Linked DNA regions of Homo sapiens: regions 1, 2, 3, 5, 6 and 7 are each linked to region 4. Evidence: promoter capture Hi-C in 16 types of primary human blood cells and fetal thymus (Javierre and others, 2016). All regions are on one chromosome and are shown on one strand. The core of a region is centred on a gene start or on the middle of the fragment in contact, and the rest is flanking DNA. Distances in the headings are between cores, read along the strand shown.

Region 1 (3,494 bases), core at 59-2,558, 1.6 Mb before region 4:
AAGTGCTGGGATTACAGGCGTGAGCCACCGCGCCCGGCCGGCAGCCTCTTTTTATAGGCAAGGAAATTATGTCTTAGAGAGTTTACCTAATTTGTCTATGGCAGTTTTCTCAGTGGCAAAGTCAGGATTTGAACCTAGTCTATCTGACTCTGTAAACTCTGTTTCTCAACTACTTTCTGCTACCTTTCTATGCTGTCAAGATGCTTGCCTGCCGGCTGAGTAATTTTATATTGTCTCGTGGCAAAGGAGCCATAAAAAATTATAAGTTGTAACTTAGCCTAGAATGGTAATTTTCCATTGTGTCTTTTGAGTCACTTTATTCACTGAAACTGCCTAGCTTGTTGCTGATGCTGCAGCAGGATTATTAGATAGTCTAATTCTAAAAGAGGAGTTTGATGACCATCCTTACAAACCAGCTTTGCTGTCAGTAAATACAGCCCTCAATTTTAGTGTCCTAACATCGTACATATAGATAGCATGGTAAATTTAGGAAGCTTTCTTGACAATAGTTTGTGTAAACGTAAGATTTTACATAAATGGAATTGAAATGCTAAATGCTTGGCAAAATTAATTCAGTAAAAACCTCTCACGCAATATCTACTGTTTATATCTTATATGAAAAGTCACAATCAACACTGTTACTTGTTATGAGTCTTTTATTAGTCAGAATCAATTTTTCTTTGAGTAATTAAACTTTTTTAAAGTTTCCTCTAAGCCTCCTGAAATTTATTTTAGTGTATGGTGTGCCAGGTACTACCTAGGATGGGTACTTTTTACATGTTACCTTATTTGGTTCATGTGATAACCCTGCAAGACAGAATTTCCCAAATGCTGTTCAGTAATTCTAGTACTAGTTTAAATAATTTTCTCTTTTCCCTCTTGCTCTGAAAAACTTATGTTATCTCATGTAAATTTTAAGATATGATTGAGTTTGTTTTTGAATTTTCTGAGTTGTTCTGTCAATAATTTTTATGGTAGTCCTGTACCATTTAAGCTATGGTTGCTTTTTTTTTTATTTAAAACTTAAAGAAAAATTTTTAGCTATGATTGCTTTTAATATAATGTATCATAGTGTTGGTCTTCCCTTATTTCTAGTTTTTTTTCAGAGTAAACTTTTGCAGGGTGAGGGGAGGGATACAAATCTGTTTAATTCATTGTACATTTAAAACCAAAATACATTTAACACTAAATATGACCATTTCTCTCATTTTGTGTCTGTTTTACATCTCTTTTTTTTAAGGGTGATAATCTTAACAATATCAAACATTCTCTGGAAAATCATATATAGGCTGAGATCTGGCCCTCCATTTTTTCATTCTCTGTAGATAGTAAAACACAAATATTTAAGAGCTTTCTTACACAATACTTAAATATCAAATATATGGAAAAATTGGACTGTTAACAGAAAATACTCACCGTCTCTTTTCCCCTCTCCTTGCAGCATATCTTCATTGACATAACAGAAGTGAGATGGCCCAGTCTTGATACAGATGGTACCATGATATATATGGAGAGTGGCATTGTGAAGATAACATCTTTAGATGGTCATGCATACCTCTGCCTGCCCAGATCTCAGCATGAATTTACAGTACATTTTTTGTGTAAAGTTAGCCAGAAGTCAGACTCATCTGCAGTGTTGTCAGAAACAAATAATAAAGCCCCAAAAGATAAACTAGTTGAAAAAACTGGCAAAATCTGTATACGTGGAAATTTACCAGGACAGAGACTGAAGAATAAAGAAAATGAGTTTCATTGCCAGATCATGAAATCCAAAGAAACTTTAAAGAAGATGAGTTGTGTAAATGGAACTGAAGGGAGGGAAGAGCTGCCTTCGCCTGGTACAAAGCACACATGTGTATACACATGGGTCAAGCAGTGCTGGTCTGTGGCTGCCTGTCCAGAGGAATGGAAATATCCTTTGTCTTTAGCACTTCATTTTCATAATAAAATCAGCAATATGTCTAAAATTGATGCACATATAACTCAGAGTAGATTTTTAACTTCTGATATTTCAGAGGAAAGAGGAAAAGTGGTTTCTGTTCTTCCCAGGGCCCTGTCACTCAGCTGTCCAGTCCCACACCTACACAGGTAATGCAGTAATGGCTATTGGTCATGAAGCTTTTTATCAGAACCAGTCTTAACCTGGATAATTTTCTTTTTATCTGATACCATTCACAAGGAAAGTTTATCTCATCCAAAATTTTGCTTTTAACTGATAGTAAATAATTTCCCTAGCAAATGTGTTGCTTATGTTTTTTACTCTGTGTCCATGCATTGAATGTAGAAGGCTGACTCTACACTAGATACTGTGCTAAGTCCAGTAACTGCAGAGATGACTAAGACACAGTCCCTGCTTTATAGCAACTTAGAATCTAGTGAAGGTCACTGTACCTAAAAAGATTATTAAAGTATGCTAAATGATGGGACAGGAGTCTGCACAGGGCTCTGTGGGCCCAGGGGAGCACCTGCTGCCGCTCACTGGAGCCCGTGACCTTGCTTGCTGGAGTGTGGATCTGACACAGTTCTTTTGTCCATACCTAGCTTCAGAGGCTACCCGTGTCTTTGGTTCACTGACTATAAATACGTCTGTTTTCAAAAGGGGTACACACGGAGTGGCTTCTGTAAGGCTAAGTATAAAACTTTTAACTCCACTAAGGATTGTAGATTTGTAACATCAACTTTGCATAAACAGTGCAAATCATAATGATAAAAACTAACACTTACAAAACACTTATGTGCCAGGTACTGTTGGACTTCACCCGTTTGATTCTCAAAGCATTCCCATGAAGTTAAAAAACGTATCATCCCTATATGTAGAGGAACTTGCGACATAGAAATGTTAAATAACTTGAGGAAAGGTACACAGCTAGTACTTGTAAAATTGAGATTTGATCCCAGGCAATCTCTGAGTATACATTTGTTATTTAAAACAAAAATATGGGAATGACTGTTAGGCTTGTCATGATTATCTGGTTAAAATGAGAAAAGTATTACGAGTACACATCAAAAGGGAATTATGCTTCAAAAGTAATGATTTTTCAATAACTTACCATGATGTTTAGGTTGAAATCCATGATCCTTCACATAGCTTACCAGGTCTTTTGTGACCTGGTCCCTTCCTATATCTGTAATCCTCAACTCTCTCACTACTCTTGCCCTTGCTTTCTCTATTCTTGCTAAGCTGGACTTTAGCAATCCCTAAAATGCTTGCTCAAGCACTCTGTGACCACTGCACCTACTCTTTACTCTGCAGGAGTGTTCTCTTTCTCTCTCAGCTGGCTAAATTATGCTCATTTCCAGGTTTCAGCTTAAACCTAACTTCTTTAGAGTGGTTTTCCTGAAGACCCTAAACAAGTTAAGTCCTATACAATTCCATAGCATGCAGTACTTGCCTCTTCTTTACACTCAATGTTTATTATTTAATGTCCCTGCTGAGGGCAGAGACCATGTCTACATTTTTTTGGTTGTTATATCCACAGTGTGTATAGCACAGT
Region 2 (3,187 bases), core at 485-2,984, 1.7 Mb before region 4:
GGATCACAATATGACCTCCTATTCTTTCAGCAAGCCATCGTCACCTCTCATCGTTAACTGCTCCTCTCTGCTTTCAGTGTGGATTAAAGAAACTGGCACCATTTCTCTCTGCCAAATACTCTGATTACACCACCTCCCATTTCCTGTCTTCTTGATCCAAAAATTGACAAGAAGTGAAGAAACCAAAAATACCTTGTATATGTGCCAAAATGTTGCAAAAATTGAGAAACCCAGAATCTGCTGAATGGTATCTTGAAAGTTTTTTTTAAAAATTAATAATATATAGGCTACAGAGAACAAGTTATCCAAAATTCTTTTAAAAATTCAAATTAGTAAAGTCAAAAAACAGAAAAGACTAGAACTTTCAGAAAGTCAAAGTTCATTTTTTTCTAGCAATCTTAAACGTTAAGCTTTGAGGTTTCGTGAAATATTTATACACACCAAAAAGTCATCAGTGAGGTTAACATATAAAAATTTTTAAATAACTGTATTTTAAGACTATACATACCCTTTCCTTTAATCAATGCATATTATAAAGAAACATTAAAAGTTGTACCTACCTTAGCTGGAGGAACTTTTCCAGCAGCTGTGATCTGACCAGTAAAAAAACGTCCAAAATGATTTGCTGCTAGGACAACAGCCTTATAACTTTAAAAATAAATAAATAAATAAATAAATAATTCCATAAAAGGAGAGATCTCAGACTCACATATCATCATAAGTCATCAATGAAGTTTTGTCAAAGAATAATAGCTAATATTTATGTAGTATGTACTATGTGTCAAAAACAGTTCTAAGTGTTGTATATACACTTGCTCCTTTAATTTGCACAACAAGCCTATGGAAAGGTACAATTACTGTCTTCATCCCATAGGTGAGAAAACTGAGATACAGACTGAGAGACTTGCCTAAGGTCACTCAGCTAGTAAATGGTAGAGCCAGAAGTCTAACACAGGCAGTCTGCCTACAGAGGCACTCTCTTATCCATTATGCACCCACCCTCTTCATAACAAGTACTGTAGAACATAATAGAAAATGTAATGAAAGAAAGATAGGAAAATACTAACAATGGTTTTCTTTGGGTACTAGGACTATACATCCTTCACACTTACTTTACTATATAGTCCAAATATTGTTTGATGACTGGGTAGTGCTTAGGTAATGGGGGGAAAATCCTTAAAATAAAAAAAATTAGGTCAGCCATAGGCTTGTACAAAATAAGATTTCAACCTCGGAGAACAGAAGAAACACTTCCCTTGATCTCTAATGGTTCAAAGTATGGGATTTTCCGATATACTGACCTTAGTTCATGTCCTAGTTCTCTGACTGATTACCTTTGTGACCTTGGGCAAATTTTTAAAATTTTCTAAACCTTGGTTTCCTCATCTATAAAGTAAGGACAAAAAGCATCTATCTTTTAGGGTCGTGAGGACTAAATGAGATAACGCAGGTGAAACACTTCGCATAAAGCCTGTCACATAGAAAATGCTCAGTGAATATTAAGTGTTTTAGCCAAAGAAACAAACTATTTAATAAATCAAATAATATGCATCATCTTTTCTTTAACAGGATATTTTTAACATGCTACACTAATTTCATTTTCATAGCAATTTATATGTAAAAGGCACTTTTGCATTCTTACTTGGTAATATATACACTGGCTCAATATTATAAAGCAACTATTAAAACTCCCCTGCTAGGTGACAAGAAAATCTTCTCCCTGATCATATTTTTACATAATAATACTTGATACAATAATTGATGCAAAAACATATAAAGTCACCATTATTAAGTTAATCACACTGGAGCAAAAAACAATACTTTAGAGATTACAGTATCTGTTGCTCTCCTGAATTCAAATGACAGCAATTTTTAATGGGCAAATATGACAAAGATTCAAAGGCCACTGTAAGAAATTAATTGTGGAATTAATGCTCTAAAAGATTCAGTTGCTATTCTGAAAAATAAATAATAAAAGGAGATTACACAGGAAATGTACGAGGAAACATTGATAGTGAAAAAAGTAATAAATTGGACATTTTCTTCATGACAGCAAAAAAGTTCAGAATGAACAGTAATGAAGTGGAAGTAGCACATCTTCACTGTAATATGGCTGTGTGTATGAATGAGACGGATAATGATTTATCATACATTGTATGGATATGTATACTAGATGATTCCTTTCACACTATGCTCTCTGCATATATCAGCTCAGGACATAGAAGAGTGATTCCTCAAATTGTGATCCCTGGGTCCCTGAAGGTTTAAACTTCAGACAAATCTGGGGCCATAGTGGATGAGATGGAGAGTAGGAATGTTTCTGCACAATCCTGCCATACTCAGTGTACCCAAAGCTACTCAGCTCTTACTGGATTTATTTATATTGTCTCATAATATTTCATTTGCTCAAAAGATTCAACAGCTAAAACCACTTGATCTAGAGCGACTGGTTTTGATATTCTTTCACATATGTGTATTTCAGAATCAACAGCACCCTTAAAACTTTACATTATACATTTTCTAGATAAAATTTTAAGTCACACATTGCATAATATAACTCCCTTACAGGCTAAATAAATTTAAAAGTGTGCAGCTAAAACACAAAGTAGAATCTATGACATATTTCCTATGCTAAAATATAAAACCTAAGAAAACTTTCTGCTTAGGTGTCAGGCTATAGAAGGCTTTATTCATGTTAGTCATGTTAGTGTCTTTTTATGCACTGTTTTTTTAAAAAGGTTATTTTCTTTGTGCCTCATTAATATTAGCAAATTCTCAACTACTAATAGTTTTCATGATTAAAATCTAATTTAATTAGTTTCTTAGAGAAGTTGATTCATAAGCCTTATCCCATTTCCAGATTGTTCCCACCCTTTAAGGCAAAGTCAGCAGTACACTGCTTTCATGTAGCTATTCCTGTCCCTCACCCATGGCAGGCATGATTACTCAATCATAGCCACATTCCTCCAAGCAGAATGGGCCTTAGAATCCTTCTCAACATAGTACTCCAGGCAATCAACATAGAATGTATTAGTGCTATTGGGCAAATGAAGCTTATTACCATCTTGACCTTAAAGGTCGAAGACATAGCCCTCAGTTATCAATATGGGTTTTGACATCAGATGAAACTTCCTCTAGTCCAGACCTTTTTCCTATTCTTTAAATATTTTATAAATTTACCTAAGCA
Region 3 (3,581 bases), core at 513-3,012, 1.6 Mb before region 4:
TTGGCTGCAATAAAATCGATTTTGAAATAAATGAAATGTTGAAAATTTTGCTAGTTGGTTAGATGCTTATCCTTTAAATTCTACTTTTCTTGAGGGGAAAAAGTCTTCTTCTGGAAATACATATTACTGCAAAAATGTAGCATCCTTTTTTAGGTAGGAGTATTATAGCTTTCATTTTAGTTTGACATTTAGTGTCCCAATGAATTGAATTTCAAATATGAATCATAATCTTGAAAATCTTTAGCACTAAAGTCTTGGAATATATCAACAACTGATTTACATATGCAGATGCTATTTGATACCAAGGGCTTTTTAAATGTCATGGGGGGGAAAAACCCAACTTGGTGAACTCCCAGCTAAACAACCAAGACTTCACTGAAGATTTATTCCAATTCTAGAATTGTTCTTTTTTATTTTTATTTTTTCAACTGACTAACTTCATTACCTTAAAGGCTAGAACATTATTCTGCTTTATTTATATGGCTTTCTCACTTTTATTTTGTAGCATGGGTTGCATCGACTTTTTTACTAGAGAATTTTACTAGATATTTGTCATTCAAGTTTTCATCTGCTTTATAATTGATACACCTTGAGGGTCACTTTTCTAATACTTTTACTATAATGTGGTACCACCTCAGCCCTAATAAATAATATTTTTACCTAATGTCAAATCTTTTTCCAGCTAACTAAAAACTGTGTACAAAAGGATTGCTTGTAAATATGCATGTAAATAGTTCTGTTAATAACCCACTGTTTTACATTTGGTACATCTGTGTCTGCTAATACAGTTAGCTTTCTCACTTTTCTGCTTGTTTGTTCAGTCTGAATTAAAATTAGACTTTGAAAATAAAGCTTAAATAGTTGTTTCCTCTAAATTTTTGAAGTAGCATCTGGTATTTTAAATAATTTGCTGTTGAACTTAAATGACATAATTAATTTACTTAATGGTTTGAAATCAAAGAAATCATATTAGAAGATATTTTATTCATTCTCTGAATAAGAATTCAGTAACAAGTCTACCTTGAAAAACTAGCAAATATAAAACATTAAAACTTTAAAATTCCTTCTATAAAGGAAATAATGTACGTAATTGTGGTTTTTGGAAGTTGTAGTAAGAAATGTTTTTCAAAATGGCTCCTGTAACATGGCAGCTATTAACATAATCTGCAGTTCTCTAAAGATAGCACTGACTATAAATATTGGAGGGAGAGGAGGTGTAGAGAAGAGATGGTACATTAGACCAGGGACAAGGAATGCTAACTGCATATACTTGAAACTTCTAGCAGCTGCTCTGTGAATAACTGTCCAGTATTTGTCTACTAGCTCATTGTCACCAACTACTGCTCTACTCACAGTAGCTACCGACAAGATCAATATCTGTTCCCGGTATTATGCTTAATAAAAAAAGCACAGAAATCTAGCATCTTAAAACAATCATTTTATTATGCTCATGGACTCTATAGTTCAGGAACTTGGAGAGGGCACAATGGGGATGGCTTTATTCTATGATGTCTGAGGCCTAGGCAAGGAAAACTAAGGGCTGAGGGTAATTTGAATATCTGAGAGCTATAATCATCTGAATTCATGGTACTGAGATGACTTTTAAAGCCAAGACTAGATTGGAATCGTTCACCAGAACCATCTACACTTGTCCATGTAGCTTGAACTTCTCACAGCATGTTGCCTGGATTCTGAAGGGCCATTTCAAAAGACCCAGAAAGCAGCTGCATTTGGAAGTTACACAGCATTAGTTCCATTATATTCTCTTGGTCCTAAGGGAGTTACTAAAGCCATATCACATAGGCCATCAAGGAGCATGTGGCCATATTTTAAAACTGATGGCTTGAGCCTGGTGGTCTTTGGTTGACCAGACTTTGCATAATTGACTACACCAGTACATAATGAAAGGAAGAGTTGCCCCCGTCCACAATTGTTGGCCTTTAGGATTGTCATGCCTTAAACAGAAACGTGTCAGCAAGTCTTGAGGAAAGATCATTTTCCAATGAGCAAGGACACAGAGCTGCTAGTAAATATAGTCTTGCGTTCTGGCAAAAAAAAAAAAAAAACCACAAATATTGGTCTTAACCTAGAAGTTGTCATCAACTCTGACCCTCTGTCTTTATGTTGTTAATGCTCTCCAGCCATAGACTACCAGGAACACACTGTACCTGAACATGTTGAGCTTACTGGGTTTTGTTTTTTTTTTTGTTTGTTTGTTTGTTTTTTGAGGCAGAGTATTGTTCTTGTTGCCCAGGCTGGAGTGCAGTGGCGTGATCTCAGCTCACCTCAACCTCTGCCTCCCGGGTTCAAGCAATTCTGCCTCAGCCTCCCAAGTAGCTGGGATTACAGGCACGCACCACCATGCCCGGCTAATTTTGTATTTTTAGTAGAGACGGGGTTTCGCCATGTTGGCCAGGTTGGCCTCAAGCTCCCAATCTCAGATGATCTGCCCACCTCGGCCTCCCAAAGTGCTGGGATTACAGGCGTGAGCCACCTCGCCCGGCCTGAGCTTATTGTTGCAGTAAAGGAGAACATACACCTTGTGGGAGTTGTGGGGTGCATCAGTAAGAGTGTGTTAGAATCTGTGGTAGGATTTGGGCTTTGGTGATTTAGGGGATGGTCTAAAACTTAACGTTCACTCTAGGCTGGGTCTTGCCAGAAAGCAAGCTTAATTCTATAATTAGGTATTTCATTAAATCTTTAGAGAGGACAGATGCATATGGATTAAGTTGTACTTTAGGGGGAAAAATCATTCACATTTAATGAGAGGAGGATGTTTGGTATGAAAGTAAACTCTAGGACTCAAAGTGGCTCAAACTGAAAAAAAAAGCTCCACCACTGTCAGGGGGACAGGCAAGGCAGCTGCAAAGTTAACATGAAACTGTTAGGTCCTGCAGCAGCTATAAAATACCATCATGACTCCCTCATGTGACCACTGCTTTGTTGGCTGTGACACCCTTAGACCTATTTTGCTATAACCCATCTACTACTGGGGATATCCAGTTGCTAAACTTGCCCTCACCTCATTGCAGCACCAATCTCTAGTTAATTCTCACATCTAATCTTGCTACAGAAATAGCATCCAACCCAGAACTGGTCTCCTTTCCCTTATAGCTTGCTCAGAACCCTACACTGGGAACCCAAACCTTACCAAAGATGGCACCCCCTGCCCTCTTGTGGAATGCACCATCTTTGCTGCTTCTGGTTCCCTTGCTTGCAAATCAATAAATGGTTTTGTCAGAAGACAGGCTTGAGCCTGGTGATCTTTGGCGGACTAGACTTCAGCAGATGTAAATAATTTAAGCTCATGTATGCTGCTGCTCTATTGTGTCAGCCTGGCAAAATACCAGCCCTGGATGAACCCAACACTGCTTCTGCATCCTTGCAGCTGGAGGTCGTTTCTGGTAGATTTTTATCACTGTAAATTCATGCTCAGCACATTGAGTTAGGCTGTCAGTACTGCCAACAATGTTAATGTGTTTCTCTTCAATCCTTCTGTAACTATTTCAAACCCCTTTCCCTCTAAAGCCCCTTTCACCCCCTAACTGATTACTTCACAGGGGAAAAAAAAACCATGATAC
Region 4 (3,350 bases), core at 27-2,526:
ATATAAGTCGGCTTCAGGGTGGTCTGTAGGTCTTTAAAGAACACACTCCTGGCCTGGCACAGTGGCTCACGCCTGTAATCCCAGCACTTTGGGAAGCCAAAGCGGGTGGAATGCTTGAGCCCAGGAGTTCAGGACCAACCTGGATGACATGGTGAACCCCGTTTCTACAAAATATGCCAAAGTTAGCCGGGCGAGATGGTGTGCGCCTGTTGTCCCACTACTAGAGGGGCTCCAGCCTGAGCAACAGAATGATACTCTGCCTCTAAAAACAAAACAAAACAAAACACTCCTGATAAATGATAATCTGGCAAAAAATATTCACTGAAACTAAGGCATTTCATCATAGACCCTATTTAATAACAAATTCACCAACTATTCAATCGCTTAAGAAAATGTTCCACCACTGTTTTCCTATGAGTCCGATGATATGAGTCAGTCCACAGAATTTTAAAAACTATCTGTAGTAATTGCTCAAACTCAAAAAGGAATAATGTAGAACCTAAAGGCAGCTGAGACGTAATGAAAAGAATTGGACTTAAATTCAGAAGGTTGAGGCAATTCCCTAGCCCAGTTTTTCCTAACAGCTTAGACCTTTCCAAAACAAGTATGCCAATACTTAACAGAGCCCTTGTGAGAACTGGCATGATGTATGGGGCAGAATAGTCTACACACCAATGTAAAGCTCTTCTATAGAATGTTGTTTTGAATCCAAAACGTAAAACGCAAATTACAACGCAGCAATGAAAAAGTGGAACTGTTATACATGTCTTTTTATCTTTACAGGATGCAAACCACCATAACTAATTTGAGTGTTATCATTCATCTTAGCCATTTATTTAAACTTCTGTATTTTATTTAGATTCTGCCCTTCTTCCAATCGCTACCGAGACAGTTTACACCAGCACGGATCTAGACAGATTTTCCATGGGTTCTGAATAATGCGGTTTTCGAAGACAACGCCTTGGCATTGTGAGTTCTGGGAAGTGGGCAATCGATGGCGCAGAGGGGCTCAGAAGCGACAGACCTCGGGTAACCACCTGCGGCCTGGGACCCAAAGGAACACAGGCCTCAGCCTCTAGCCCTCACAGCCATCGAGCGCCAGTACCTTAGCGCCGTCTGCCCCGCCCGCCTCCCTCTCCTCCGCTCCCTCACCATCTTCACCGGCAGCTTCGCTAAGTTGCTGTATGTGGGCCTGAGCCAGATCCCCGAGCTCTTCCACTCGTCTCACCACACTAGAGACTGCGGCCGCCATGGCCACAATCGGCGGGTGCGCCCCGGTCACGTGACCGTGTTGGCCCGCAATCACCTGATCCCCCGGCACGGGCGGGGCCTAGGGCGGACCTCTCCTGGTTGGTGGGAGGAGACATCAGCTCCGGAAGAGGGCTGGCCCAGGCCGGCAAAGGTCTTTCCGGGTCATTTTTCCCTCCTGGACTTCCCTTCCCTCCCATAATCCTGAGCAGCAAGGAGACTAGGGGCGGGTGTGACGTTGAGACACGCCTCTCTCTAGCCCCCTCCTGTAAGCCAATAGGGAGCCAGCCGTGCCCCTCGGCTGACCCAATCGGAAGTCAGCTCTCTCCGCCTGCCTCTTGGAAGACAGCTTGGTGACGTCTGGCTGGCAGGATGCGGATTGTCGTCCGCACTCCCACTTCCCTGTCCGGCGCGGGAAGCACAGTCTGGAGGGCGGACGCGAGGGTCTGGAGAGAGGACTGTCAGTTTTGGCCTTGTAGTAAGGAGGTTGCTAAAATAAAGTGATTATAATCTCCTGGTCCTAAATGGAAACCCGACCGGCCCCCTGTGTAACACATCCAAGTCTCCAAGAGTTTGTTGTACATCTGGATGGGGAGCTCCAAACACTAGTGGAGTTGCCAGTCTACATGGTTGAATATTGCTTTTGTAAATCTGATTTTTAGCAGTCGAATTTATCTCTGACCTCCCTTGGAGTTCACATTTAAAGTACTTTAGACATCTTGCGTCCAGTGGTAGTAAATTCTGCGGCCACAAAACTATTTTCATTTTTCTTTCATCTCAAGACCTTCCCTTAAGGCGCTAATTGTGCATGAGGTTCATCCTCTCAATCGGGAGTTTCAAAGCACTCAGTCAGCAAGTCTAACTTCACTTTGCATTCTGTGAATGCTTTCTTGCCTCTGGTCAAACAAATCGTTAACTCTGTGTATTCATTTCTCAGTTTGACACACTATATCTTGAATAATCTCCATCCTATTGTTTCTCATGGAAGGTAGTTTTTTATATGTAATAGAAAAATACTAAAAATAGAGAAAAAGTGTATTGTGATTTATAAGTGATTGACCACAATGACTCTCTAACTGACCTTTGTAATACCAGTTTCTTCTGACAATTCACCCTAAATATAGAGGACAGGAATCATGTATTTTGTGTCCTTGGTGCCTCATACAGTGCCTGGCACATATGCACTCTTGTCAACAAGCAAGATGGCAAGGGGATATGATGTGGTCTGTGGGAGTAGACAATTATTCAATAGTGTGGGAATTGTAGGTGAGGAAAAAAAGAATCTAAGTATAAACAAGAAGTTGAGAGAAGGCTTTCTCAACAAGGGATGGAGAAGGTGGTAGTTGAAGAGGGGCAAGTGCTGGAAGGTAGGGTGGAGAATGATCGTATCTGTACACAAAGGGGGAAAAATAGGGAAATAGGGATAAATTCAAAATGAAAGTAGGGAGCCAGCAATGGATAGAGAAAAGAGCAGAAGGTTACACCTGATGCCTTCTGAATCTTCTACAAGATGTAGAACTAAATGAAGCCTTCAGAAGATTTTACTAAACTTTTCAAAAAATAATTTTCAAAAAATAATTAACCTTTGATTAGGAATTTTCAGTCTCCTAGAAAATGTGTAATTTACCATTCTTAAACTACTTAAAAGAATTACCTGGACATGTGGGCAACAGACAAAGGCACAGCTGAAATATTTTGACTGTGGATCTACAAATTATCTCTGCAGAAGTGTTTTACTCTCAGGTCCACTGTTCTTCTCAGGCTTTTATAAAAGACATCTTAGGATCTATGTAATCAGGTCATCCATTTTCTAGCCATGAGATTTGGGTCTGGGAGATCTTGCTCATGATTTCGAAGTGATCTTGGATCGCCATTTGAATCAAGGGTTCCTTTTTAAAATAAACATTTAGAGTCAAATATTCAAAAGGCCCTTTTATTACAACCACAGCTTTATCTGTTCCCTCTCCATAAATGTGGCTATTGAAAACATTTTAGGCCAGGTATAATGGCTCATGCCTGTAATCCCAGCACTTTGGGAGATGTAGGCAGGCAGATCACCTGAGGTCAGGGGTTCAAAACCAGCCTGGCCAACATAGTGAAAC
Region 5 (3,394 bases), core at 28-2,527, 1.7 Mb before region 4:
GAGACGGGGTTTCACATGTTGTCCAGGTTGGTCTCGAACTCCTGACCTCAGGTAATCTGTCCGCCTCAGCCTCCCATAGTGCTGGGATCGCACCTGGCTATAGTACTCTCAATACAGTTGAGTTCTGAGAGTACTTTATATATTCTAGATACAAGTCTTTTGTCAAATATGTGGTGCCTTCATCCATTTTTGTTGCTATAAAGGAATAGCTGAGGCTGGGTAATTTATAAAGAAAAGGGTTTCATTTGGCTCACTATTCTGCAGGCTGTACTAGAAGCATGGCACCAACATCTGCTTCTGGTGAGGGCTTCAGCCTGCTTCTATGCATGGCAGAAAGTGAAGGGGAGACAGTGTGCAGAGATTACATGGCAAGAGAGGAAGCATGAGACAGGGGGAGTGTGCCAGGCTCTTTTCAACAACCAGCTCTTGGGGAAACTCCTTGGGAACTAGTAAAACCATAACTCATTCGTTACTGTGAGAATGGCACCATGCCATTCATGAGGAATCTGCCACCATGACCCAAACGCCTTCCATTAGGCCCCACCTCCAACATTCAGGATCAAGTTTCAACAGGAGGCTTGGAGGGTCAAATATACAAACTATACCATGTGGTTTGCAAATATTTCCTCTTGCATATTTATGAAAATTTTCTCCTGTTAGCTGGCCTTGAAGGCTGTACTGTCTACTCCCATAAGGTCTAATGATGATCCTGAGGTCAATAAGTTCTAAAAAAACAGTCTTTTTTTTTTTTTTTTTTTTTTTACCATCACTAGACTGGTGACCTAAGGAAAGGCAGGACCATTGCAGGTGAGTCCTATTTCTGTTAAAAGCTTATTATGGACTAAGTACTGGGTTGGACCTAAAGGATTAAAAGGCATCCTCTGTCTTCAGAGGGCTAGTTTAGGGAAGGAGACATTTAAATAAACCAAATACTAACGATAACAATCTGGCATGCTAAGTACCAAGACAGTTTTCCCAGGGTATACTTATCACAAGGGAGAGAATCTAAGATTAGGCAGCTTGGGAAGTCTTACTGGAGAATGCCTTTCAAGTACAGTTTAAGGAAACATTTTTTTCATAGTTCACAGCAGGTCCTTTTCCATATTACAACATATTTTCCAATTTGTCCAAATTTAGTTCTACTCTCCTTTCACCATAAATTAATAAAAAAGGCATACACGTGGATGAGGAGCACTTTGATGATTCTCTTTAGGGAGTTCCACATGGTGTTCACACGTTCATGTGTTTCTGTCTATGCATTTTGCAATACCTGCCAGTTAGCTCTAAAACAGTCCCAAGATGGATCTGAGCCCTTGCGGTATCTTGGCACCTTTTATGTAAAGTGAAAATATTGGAATGTCTATCTCACAGGATATGAGGATAAAATAAAATGATAAAATAAAAGCTCTTAAAAGGTGACTGACGCATAATAAATATTAGATATTTTTATTATCATGATGCAAAATCCATTCGTGTTATCTCCAAGTCCACCATCCACACATTATAAGAATAGGGCAAAAGTTATACAGTAACAAATACAGAGAAGGCAAAGGATATCTTACCTAATTTTCCTAACAAGAGGGTGTGAAGATGTCGTGACATCACCATGGATGCAGAATGGCCTTATCTTCACATGGGAAAGTCCCAGTTGTTAGAAAAGGTGCTGTTCATCATAAAAGTTTTAAGGGGAAATGAAAAGGTGGTGAGTGCAAACAAAAGCTTGGGGCAGAGTTGGGGCATCTACTTCAGTGGAACATAACTCATTGTTAGTTTTTTAGCATAGTTTATGGGTCTTTCCTGTATGATAAAAAAGTCCAGGCAAGAAGTGACTGGTGACCACATACAATAATGAATTTGAAAATATTAAAATTGTAATTTTTAAATTGTAATCTTGTCTCTGCAATATATGCTGAGTGTTACCACACAGTTATTATTTTACAGATGAGGAAAGTGAGGCTCAGAGAAGCTAAACCCCTTACTTACTCAAAATCACACAGACAGCAATAGTCAAGAGTGGAATCCCAACTAAGCTCTGGCAGACTGAATCCTAAACTTTCCGTACACCGAAGAGCCACACGTACTGCTGGCTTCCTTCCCTGACTTCATTATTTTGCCTAACATCAATAGCATGAACCATTTATTCATGATTGCCCTCGGTGAAGCCATTTTCTCATTCGTTTAGGGGAAGACATTGTTTTCTTTATTAATGAGAAGAGAAAACGGTTAACAAGAGTTTGTGTCCCTAATTGAAATGATTCTTAAGATGAAAAGATAGAAAAACATGAAACCCTGCTTAAAACAAAAGGCTAAAATCAGAATTTATGGAGATGGATCAATCCAACAGTAAAGAAATCAATTTTTCCTTCCTTGTCGTTACTTATATTCATCTATCCTTTATTTGGCATTAATACTGTCAGGCCTGACAAAAACAACAATTTACATATTAATAAAATCTAGAATTGTGCTGTGCAACGCAGTAGCCACTAGCCACATGTGGCTCTTGAGCCCTTGAAATGTGCCAATCCCGACTAAGATGTGCCATAAGTGTAAAATATACACTGGATTTCAACTAGTATCTAAAAAACAGAGAAAATATTTAATATTTTAAATCGCATGTTAAAAAACCATTTTGAACATAATGGATTAAATAAATTTAAATTAATTTCACCTGGTTTTTGTTTTGTTTTGTTTTGTTTTTTGAGACAGAGTTTGGCTCTTGTTGCCCAGGCTGGAGTGCAACGGTACGATCTCGGCTCACTGCAACCTCTGCCTCCTGCGTTCAAGCGATTCTCCTGCCTCAGCCTCCAGAATAGCTAGGATTACAGGCATGTGCCACCACGCCCGGCTAACTTTGTATTTTTAGTAGAGACGGGGTTTCTCCATGTTGGTCTGGCTGGTCTCGAACTCCCGACCTCAGGTGATCCGCCCCCCTCGGCCTCCCAAAGTGCTGGGATTACAGGCGTGAGCCACTGCGCCTGGCCACACCTGTTTCTTTTCACTCATTTAATGTGGCTTCTCCAAAATGTAAAATTACATAAGTGGCTTGCATTTGTGGCTCGCATTATATTTTCATTGGACAGCACTGATGCAAGATGAAAAAGAGGGCAGAGTTACACTGAAAGGTAGCACATTTTCTTGAAATTTCTGGAGGGGAAGGTTAACGGGAAGAGAACGAAGCTTGTTAAACGTAGGTGTGACCTACTGTGGTAAACACCTAGGGTGAATTAAAGAGGGGACACATATTTTGATTCCGTTTCTACTCCCTTCCCCCGATGCTAACGGAGCAGGTGACAGTCTCCCAGGGACCACTCCTCAGCAGTCCGCGGGTCTCGGCCGGAGCCGAGTCATTGAACACACCTGTGCGCCAGCGAACCCTGGCGCAGGGTCCACGCCC
Region 6 (3,649 bases), core at 311-2,810, 1.6 Mb before region 4:
AATCCTCTAGCCAATTTGAAATAAGATTTGCAACCACAAATAACTGAAATTCTGTATATTTCTATAAAGTGGATAAAATTACGCAATGATTATCTTAAAATGGGGAAGAGTCTTCAGCTTTTTATGAATTTTTTTTCTTTTGGTTTATCTAATTTATTACAGTAAATCTTGTGATAGTCTTCACATTTTAGTGATTTCACTTGAGAATATTCACAAAATAATAGCTTTTTGTTACCTCTTGAATGTATTTTTCTGTTGGGTTTTATTGTGTTTCAGTCTAAGTGCTCATTCATTGCTATTAATGATTTGCCTCAAAAAAGATAGTTTCTTTAGCAAACATTTCTATTGATTCAGCCAATCATTTCAGATCATTCATTTTATTAAACTTGATACTTGTTTTAGATATGTAGTAAGTTACATATAATTACACATATGCATACAAGCATATGTGTATATGCATTAGCAGGTGTTTTTTGGTTTAAATTTTAGTAAGCAAATGCTCAGTCAGTCTTATTTTGTGTGAATATTTTTTGATAAAACTTAAACGCATTTTACTTTGAAAAACTAAAAGAATTAGAACATTTAAAATTGAACTTTAAATGAAATCCAAATATCGCCTTTATTTTGATTCTTAAATGTCACTTGTATTAATCACAAATATAAGTAAATCATTTTATTCTTGATGAATAATGGAAAAAATTTGGCTTTTCTATGACCAGTGAAAAATATTTTGAGAATTGCCCAGTAAATGCTTCACTTTAACATTTTTTCTTTATCCTTTTTTCCCAAATTGTCTTATTTTTACATTTGTTTATAATTTTATAATGTATTCAAGTTCATTTTTCAAGTATTTCTTTTAATGTATTCACTTTAGATATGTGACAACAGTAACATCATGGTGCAGGAGACTGACCCAGACTAGTCCCAGAGAGATGCCCACTCATTCGTCATCTTCTGTTCTCCAAGAAAATTGGTATTTTTCTTTTAAACTTAAATCTGTTTAGAAGAGCTAATACTTTAAAAAAAATTAAAATGTCAAATGGTAAACTGAGACTTTTTTCCCCAAAAAAACTTTCTTAGTTTTGAATATGTTTAACTCCTAAAGTATTTTTGATAGCTTAAGCTTGAAAATAATTTCTAATCAGACATCTAATTTATTACATTTCATCATATTCTATTTTACCTAAAGGTAAGAAAACCTTGCATTGAAAACTTAACATGAAAATGAGTGGCTCTTTTTATGTGACAAATTCATCCTGAAAACTTTATGGAAAAATTTAAAGGGGATTCTTAAATTTTTAGTAATGTTGAAGGAAATAAAAGGTTTAATAACATAAGCTTTCAGAAAACATTGATTTTTAAATAATTTCTGTCATATTAGTTACTTCTCCCAAATTAACTGGCAGATCAAATAAAGCAAGTATTTTAGTCCCTCCTGTGTGCTTTTCAGTGTGCAGGGTACTAGAACTGGGCTTCAAGGGAACTTTCTGTGAAAATATAAGACATTTTAGGGAGGAAATAAGGGCAGAAGTAAAAAGGATATTTTAGCCTGTGGAGATAGAAGATAGTTTTTATGGAACATATGCTATCTATTAGTATATAGTATGAGTTTTGAGGGCTAGGAATGGATCTTATAATAAATAGGAGTTCAGACCTGATGGAATTAGAAAGTCCTAAATGGAAAAATGATAGGAAGAAAGGTCATTAGAAGATTAGTGTCACTGAGAGTCTAACCTGAATATATGGGAAGACAGGGATACCAGGAACAATTTGGGAAGCTTTTTAAGTAAGTTTTGTGAGGTGACCTAACATAGTGTAGTGAAACAAAATGTAAACATTAAGCCAATTTTTGTTACCTTTTCCTAAGCCCTTTCTTAGAACAAATCAAATCATATCAGTAAGCGTTATTTGAATATCTCAGGTAGCTTAAGGATCCAGCTTTGCAGATCCCTCATCCTTTAGCTGTAGCCTGTTTGGAAGCAGAAAAGTTGCTAAAGTAACTAGCAAAAAACAATTGTGATGGAAGGAAAATTGTACTTGTCTATAAAACCATCACTTCACCATTGCTTAGCTGGCAGTTTGTAAAATATCATCAGCCTTTTTATTTGAAAGCTGAGAAGAGGCTGTCAATACACACTAAAAACTGCAAGTAGAGATTGGTGATAGTAGCTAAAGGTGAAAGCAACTAGGAACAGCAGAGGCAAGATAAAGAAATTGAGGAGTAGCTCCATTCCCCCTATAAAGCCTTAGGTATCTCCACTTCGGTTTTTCTTATCAAAGAGGGTAGGTTGAAGGAAGAAACAAGATTGTACAATAAAAAGCTACCTAAGTTGTATTCTAGTATTTTTTTTCCGCCACACCCTCCATTATTAGCTTATTAATTCAACTTTTTAGTCAACAAATAGTACGTTTCATAAAAAGTTCGTTCATTATGAGAGCAATAACAATAAAGGTTGTATTGTTTCTTACATCCAGAAAAATGCGTTGGGTTTAAAAAAAAAAAGATATTTTGCAATAATGAACAATCAGCTGGTTGTTGGGGTAAGTTGTATCCAAGTTCTTTGCCACAGGTGTTTAAAATTATGAAATATTTCTTTTCATTCTCCATCCATAGGCTGGAGTACAAGGGAAAGAGTACAAGCTGACAGGGAGGTGCATGTGATCTGTTGTAGTAAAGCCAATAAAGCAGACAAGTCACACAACCTACTACGAACTGTGAAGATTTTTCTGGTGACTTGAATATTTTAGACTAATGTCTTCATTAATTTTGCAGAGAGCTAGTCAAGTTACAGTTTGTAGTTGTATGCCATTGCTCATATTTCATTCTAACTTGATAAGAAAAAGGATAAAGAACACACACTTAGGGGTTCTGCTGGAGACGTATATATTAGCCCTCTACTCCATACCAGTTGTCCCACTATCTTTCTATAGAACATGGTATAAGAGCTAATGTTCATCATGTTAACCCTCTGTGCTTAAAAAAACAATGAAATAAGTAGGTAGTCTATTCCAGAAAGAATTTAATAAAAAATAGTTGTTTTGACACGTAATTCAACTATTTAAAAACTTGGATCTCCCATACCATCCATTCCCAAAGAGTTCCATATAAATGAGGTCTTAATATATGCACAAGTACAGAAAAGTAAAAAATCCTTTCTTCTGAGAGAAACAATCTAGGTAGGAAGAGCAGGAAGTTAAATAGTTCAAGAGAAGATATTACAAATAAGTATGTGATTAATTAATATGCTATAGGAATTCAAGGAAGGAGAGAGCAGTTCTTTCACAGAAGGAATGGGATTTTAATAGGTTTGTAAAGTTTGCGTAAACTTTAGGGAGGAAAGTAGAGTGTAAGCTAGGTTAGTACTAAGAAGTAACAGGAAGGCCCATTATCCTCAAACATCAATATTTGATTACAAATTCCTTGAAGTGGATTTACAAGGGGTAGACTTTTATTCACTTACCTTTAAAGGCACTCAGTAAGTATCAGTTGAGTCAAGTTGATTTGTTGCTAAATAAAGGTAACATAAAGAGAATTCTTCTGCGTTCTTCCGTTTAAAATTCTAATGAAAAAAAAAGTCAGGTATGCTTATTTGAAATATCATGAATACAAAAGAATCAGACAACTGAATGAATTTTTTCTTTTTCCTTG
Region 7 (3,321 bases), core at 712-3,211, 1.7 Mb before region 4:
GCTGGGCACAGTGGCTCATGCCTGTAATCCCAGCAGTTTAGGAGGCCAAGGCGGGCAGATTGCTTGAGCTCACAAGTTCGAGACCAGCCTGGGCAATATGGCGAAACCCCATCCCTGCAAAAAATACAAAAATTAGCTGGGCATGGTGGCATGTGCCTGTAGTTTCAGCTACTCAGGAGGCTGAGGTGGGAAGATGGCTTGAGCCTGAGAGGCAGAGGTTGCAGTGAGCTAGGATCCAGGATTGTACCACTACACTCCAGCCTGGGCGATAGAGCCAGACCTTGTCCAAAAAAAAAAAAAAAAAAATGCCTAAAACGAAAAATAGCGATAATATCAAAATCTGGCAAGGGTGGGGAAAAACTGTATTATTCATACATTGCTGCTGAGAGTATAAAATGATATAGTCAAACTGGAAAACAGTTTGATGGTTTCTTTAAAAAACCTGTAACTACCATATGGTTCTACCATTTATACTCCCAGGCATTTGTCACAGAGAAACAAAATGTATGTTCACACAAAAACCTGTACATAATTGTTCATAGTAGCTTTATTCATAAGAGCCAAAAACTGGAAACAGCCCATATGTCCTTCAACAGGTGAATGGTTAAACAGACTGTTATACATGCTTACCATGGAAGACTACTCAGCAATGAAAATGAATGAACTACTGAAATACTCAACAACTTGGATCACTCCCCAGAGAATTATGCTAAGAGGGAAAAGCCAGTCTTAAAAGATTACATACTTACTATTCCATTTACGTAACATTCTCTTTTATTTGTAGAAATGAAGGTCTCATTATGTTGTCCAGGCTGGTCTCAAATTCCTGGCCTCTGGTGGTCCTCCTGCCTCAGTCTCCCAAAGTGCTATAATCTATAATTATAGATTATATAGCTATATATACATTATACATTATATTTAATATATAATGTATATATATAAGTATATGTATTATTATATATATTTATAATGTGTATATATATAGTTGTTGTTGAGACCAAATCTCCCTATGTCACCCAGGCTGGAGTGTAGTGGTTCAATCTCGGCTTACACCAACCTCCACCTTCTGGGTTCAAGCAATTCTCCCACTTCAGGCTCCCAAGTAGCTGGGACTATAGACATCTGCCACCATGCCCAGCTAATTTTTGCATTTTTAATAGAGACAGGGTTTCACCATGTTGGCCAGAGTAGTCTTCAACTCCTGGCCTCAAGCAATCCGCCTGCCTCGGCCTCCCAAACTGCTGGGACTACAGGCATGAGCCACTGCACCTGGCCCACTATATAATATTCTTGAAAAAATGAAATTATCAAAATAGAGAACAGATTGGTAGTTGCCAGAGTTTGAGGAGGGGGTGAGGGTAAAAGAGATGTAGCTGTGGCTATAAAAGGCCAACCCGAGAAATCCTTGTGGTGATAGAAATATTCTGTATCTTGATTACATCAATGTCAATACCCTGGTTATGATATTGTACTATAGTTTTGCAAAATATTACCCTTAGGGGAAACTGGGTAGAGCCTACAGGGGGGGATCTCTCTGTATTATTTCATACAACTGCATGTGAATCTCCAATTATCTCAAAATAAAATGTTTAATTAAAAAAATAAGCCTGACAGGTGTAGTAAAATAGTAATGGTAGACTCTAGGTGGTAGATGCACAGGTAAGTACATAAAATTCTTTCAAATTTGCTGTTTTTTTAATGTTTCTTTGTAAAATTAGAAAAAAAAAGTTAAGTATTGTAATTATTCTGAGACTAAGTCCCTCACTCTCACAATCTAAAAAATAAAAGTAAGGTACATTCGGTACATTCAGCTTACTGAAAATATTCATTATTGCCTCTTTTCCTGTGGCATAAATTTTTCAAATGAATTGCCTGTAGATTAAGAAAGCAATTTCATGAAATCATTTCTTATCAGTGGAAGCAAACATTGAAGGTTCAGGATGCCATCCTGAATTTGGGATAAAGAGGTTTTTCATCTTCCTTACCCCACACCTCATCTTTAGTCAGTGTTTTCAACATTTATTTGGCATGTTAATTGTCAAATTCCCCTTTCAAGTGATCTTTTTATCTGATAGAGTGTCCAAGGTACTCTAAAGATTGCATTGCTGGCACACTCTACTGTTAGGTGACAGTTTAGGCACTACATCCCTCTGTAGTGGCTTTTGAGTAGACGACAAATTGTAGGAATTTATAGCATTAACTCAAAAATTTTAGAAAGCCTCAGGGAACAATTAATTTCAGGGTTTAAACTTGTCAGACCTGAAAAGTAACTATAAATTCATATTGATGATTACAGATTCTTTGTTTCTTAATCTCCACAATGGGCTCAAGAGTCCAAAAGCATAAATCATGCCACCTTAGGACAGTAAGAATAGTTACTTTCTGTGTAATATTTCAGTTTACACACCACCTTGACATGTATTACCTGATTTAATCACTTTAATAACTCGGAAGAAGGTTCTATTATTCCTGGGTTTTTTGTTGTTGTTGTTTTTTGAGATGGAGTCTCACTCTGTTGTTGCCCAGGCTGGAGTGCAGTGGTGCAACCTCCACCTCCCAGGTTCAAGCGATTCTCCTGCCTCAGCCCCCCGAATAGCTGGGACCACAGGCGCACGCCACCATGCCCAGCTAATTTTTGTATTTTTTAGTAGATATGAGGTTTCACCATATTGGCCAGGCTGGTCTCAAACTCCTGACTTCATGATCCGCCCACCTCGGCCTCCCAAAGTGCTGGGATTACAGGTGTGAGCCACCGTGCCCAGCCTGTTCCTGTTTTAAGGTGAAGAAACAATGGCTTAGGGTAAACTGATACATCTGAAGTCACAACAACAAGAATTAGAGCTGAGACTTAACTGTAGGTCTTTTGGTTCTGAGTTCAATGATTCTGGTGGGAAAGAGTATCCTCTGAGAGGGGATGCTAAAATGACTTCCCTGTGGGAATGAAGGTACCAAGAGAAGCAAGGAAAACAGAAGCCCCTTTATAGAGAGAAAGAGGGAGTCCTCTGTGAACATCAAGTCCCTCTCATTTTTCCCTCCCCATTCATTTTCCTGGATTATCCTACTAATCCTTAATTTTATTTGAGATGAGACCTTTACACAGAAGCCTTTCCAGACCATCCAAGGTTAAGTGCCCTTCCATAAGACTCAAGTTTTAACATTATTATAGTGTTTATCACTCTCTGTCTTAGTCTGTTTGGGCTGCTATACCAAAATGTTATAAACTGGGTCATCTATAAACAACAGAAATTTATTTCTCACAGTTCTTGAGGCTGGGAAGTCCAAGATCAAGGTAGCAGCAGACTTGTTGTCTGGTGAGGGACT

The links. The method cuts DNA at HindIII sites, captures the fragments that hold promoters and counts their contacts. A CHiCAGO score of 5 or more calls a contact.
Region 1: a contact is called between a fragment that was not itself captured here and the fragment with the promoter of RIMOC1 in region 4, in 3 of 17 cell types (neutrophils, fetal thymus and naive CD8 T cells). The highest score is 6.5, in neutrophils.
Region 2: a fragment that was not itself captured here is called in contact with the fragment with the promoter of RIMOC1 in region 4 in 1 of 17 cell types (naive CD8 T cells); the score reaches 5.4 in naive CD8 T cells.
Region 3: a contact is called between a fragment that was not itself captured here and the fragment with the promoter of RIMOC1 in region 4, in 1 of 17 cell types (neutrophils). The highest score is 5.2, in neutrophils.
Region 5: a contact is called between a fragment that was not itself captured here and the fragment with the promoter of RIMOC1 in region 4, in 7 of 17 cell types (non-activated CD4 T cells, total CD4 T cells, naive CD8 T cells and 4 more). The highest score is 11.1, in non-activated CD4 T cells.
Region 6: a fragment that was not itself captured here is called in contact with the fragment with the promoter of RIMOC1 in region 4 in 2 of 17 cell types (naive CD8 T cells and non-activated CD4 T cells); the score reaches 6.5 in naive CD8 T cells.
Region 7: a fragment that was not itself captured here is called in contact with the fragment with the promoter of RIMOC1 in region 4 in 2 of 17 cell types (total CD4 T cells and non-activated CD4 T cells); the score reaches 6.4 in total CD4 T cells.

Annotation. Positions count from the first base shown.
Region 1 is chr5:43,504,342-43,507,835 of GRCh38, reverse strand. C5orf34 (chromosome 5 open reading frame 34) reads left to right here. Exons shown (of 13, transcript NM_198566.4): 4 at 1,442-2,088. C5orf34-AS1 (C5orf34 antisense RNA 1) reads right to left here. Exons shown (of 3, transcript XR_007058763.1): 3 at 639-1,628. Among named protein-coding and RNA genes, the nearest start is that of C5orf34, 9.1 kb to the left of the region's middle. The HindIII fragment of the contact is 1,624 bases long and covers 497-2,120 here.
Region 2 is chr5:43,616,493-43,619,679 of GRCh38, reverse strand. It overlaps NNT (nicotinamide nucleotide transhydrogenase), which reads right to left. Exons shown (of 22, transcript NM_182977.3): 5 at 561-648. Among named protein-coding and RNA genes, the nearest start is that of NNT-AS1, 15 kb to the right of the region's middle. The HindIII fragment of the contact is 2,643 bases long and covers 413-3,055 here.
Region 3 is chr5:43,523,561-43,527,141 of GRCh38, reverse strand. It overlaps PAIP1 (poly(A) binding protein interacting protein 1), which reads left to right. Exons shown (of 11, transcript NM_006451.5): 11 at 1-875. Among named protein-coding and RNA genes, the nearest start is that of C5orf34, 10 kb to the right of the region's middle. The HindIII fragment of the contact is 1,815 bases long and covers 855-2,669 here.
Region 4 is chr5:41,902,270-41,905,619 of GRCh38, reverse strand. RIMOC1 (RAB7A interacting MON1-CCZ1 complex subunit 1) reads right to left here and starts at 1,276. Exons shown (of 6, transcript NM_175921.6): 1 at 1,153-1,276. The coding sequence starts at 1,252. RefSeq lists enhancers at 1,174-1,293, 1,046-1,592, 1,704-1,843. The HindIII fragment of the contact is 10,560 bases long and covers 1-3,350 here.
Region 5 is chr5:43,557,429-43,560,822 of GRCh38, reverse strand. No RefSeq gene overlaps it. Among named protein-coding and RNA genes, the nearest start is that of PAIP1, 2.0 kb to the right of the region's middle. The HindIII fragment of the contact is 889 bases long and covers 833-1,721 here.
Region 6 is chr5:43,487,955-43,491,603 of GRCh38, reverse strand. It overlaps C5orf34 (chromosome 5 open reading frame 34), which reads left to right. Exons shown (of 13, transcript NM_198566.4): 11 at 875-973. C5orf34-AS1 (C5orf34 antisense RNA 1) reads right to left here. Exons shown (of 3, transcript XR_007058763.1): 2 at 3,462-3,560. Among named protein-coding and RNA genes, the nearest start is that of C5orf34-AS1, 5.9 kb to the right of the region's middle. RefSeq lists an enhancer at 2,622-2,791. The HindIII fragment of the contact is 440 bases long and covers 1,341-1,780 here.
Region 7 is chr5:43,593,267-43,596,587 of GRCh38, reverse strand. All of the region lies in intron 1 of NNT-AS1 (NNT antisense RNA 1), which reads left to right. Among named protein-coding and RNA genes, the nearest start is that of NNT, 8.3 kb to the left of the region's middle. The HindIII fragment of the contact is 6,357 bases long and covers 1-3,321 here.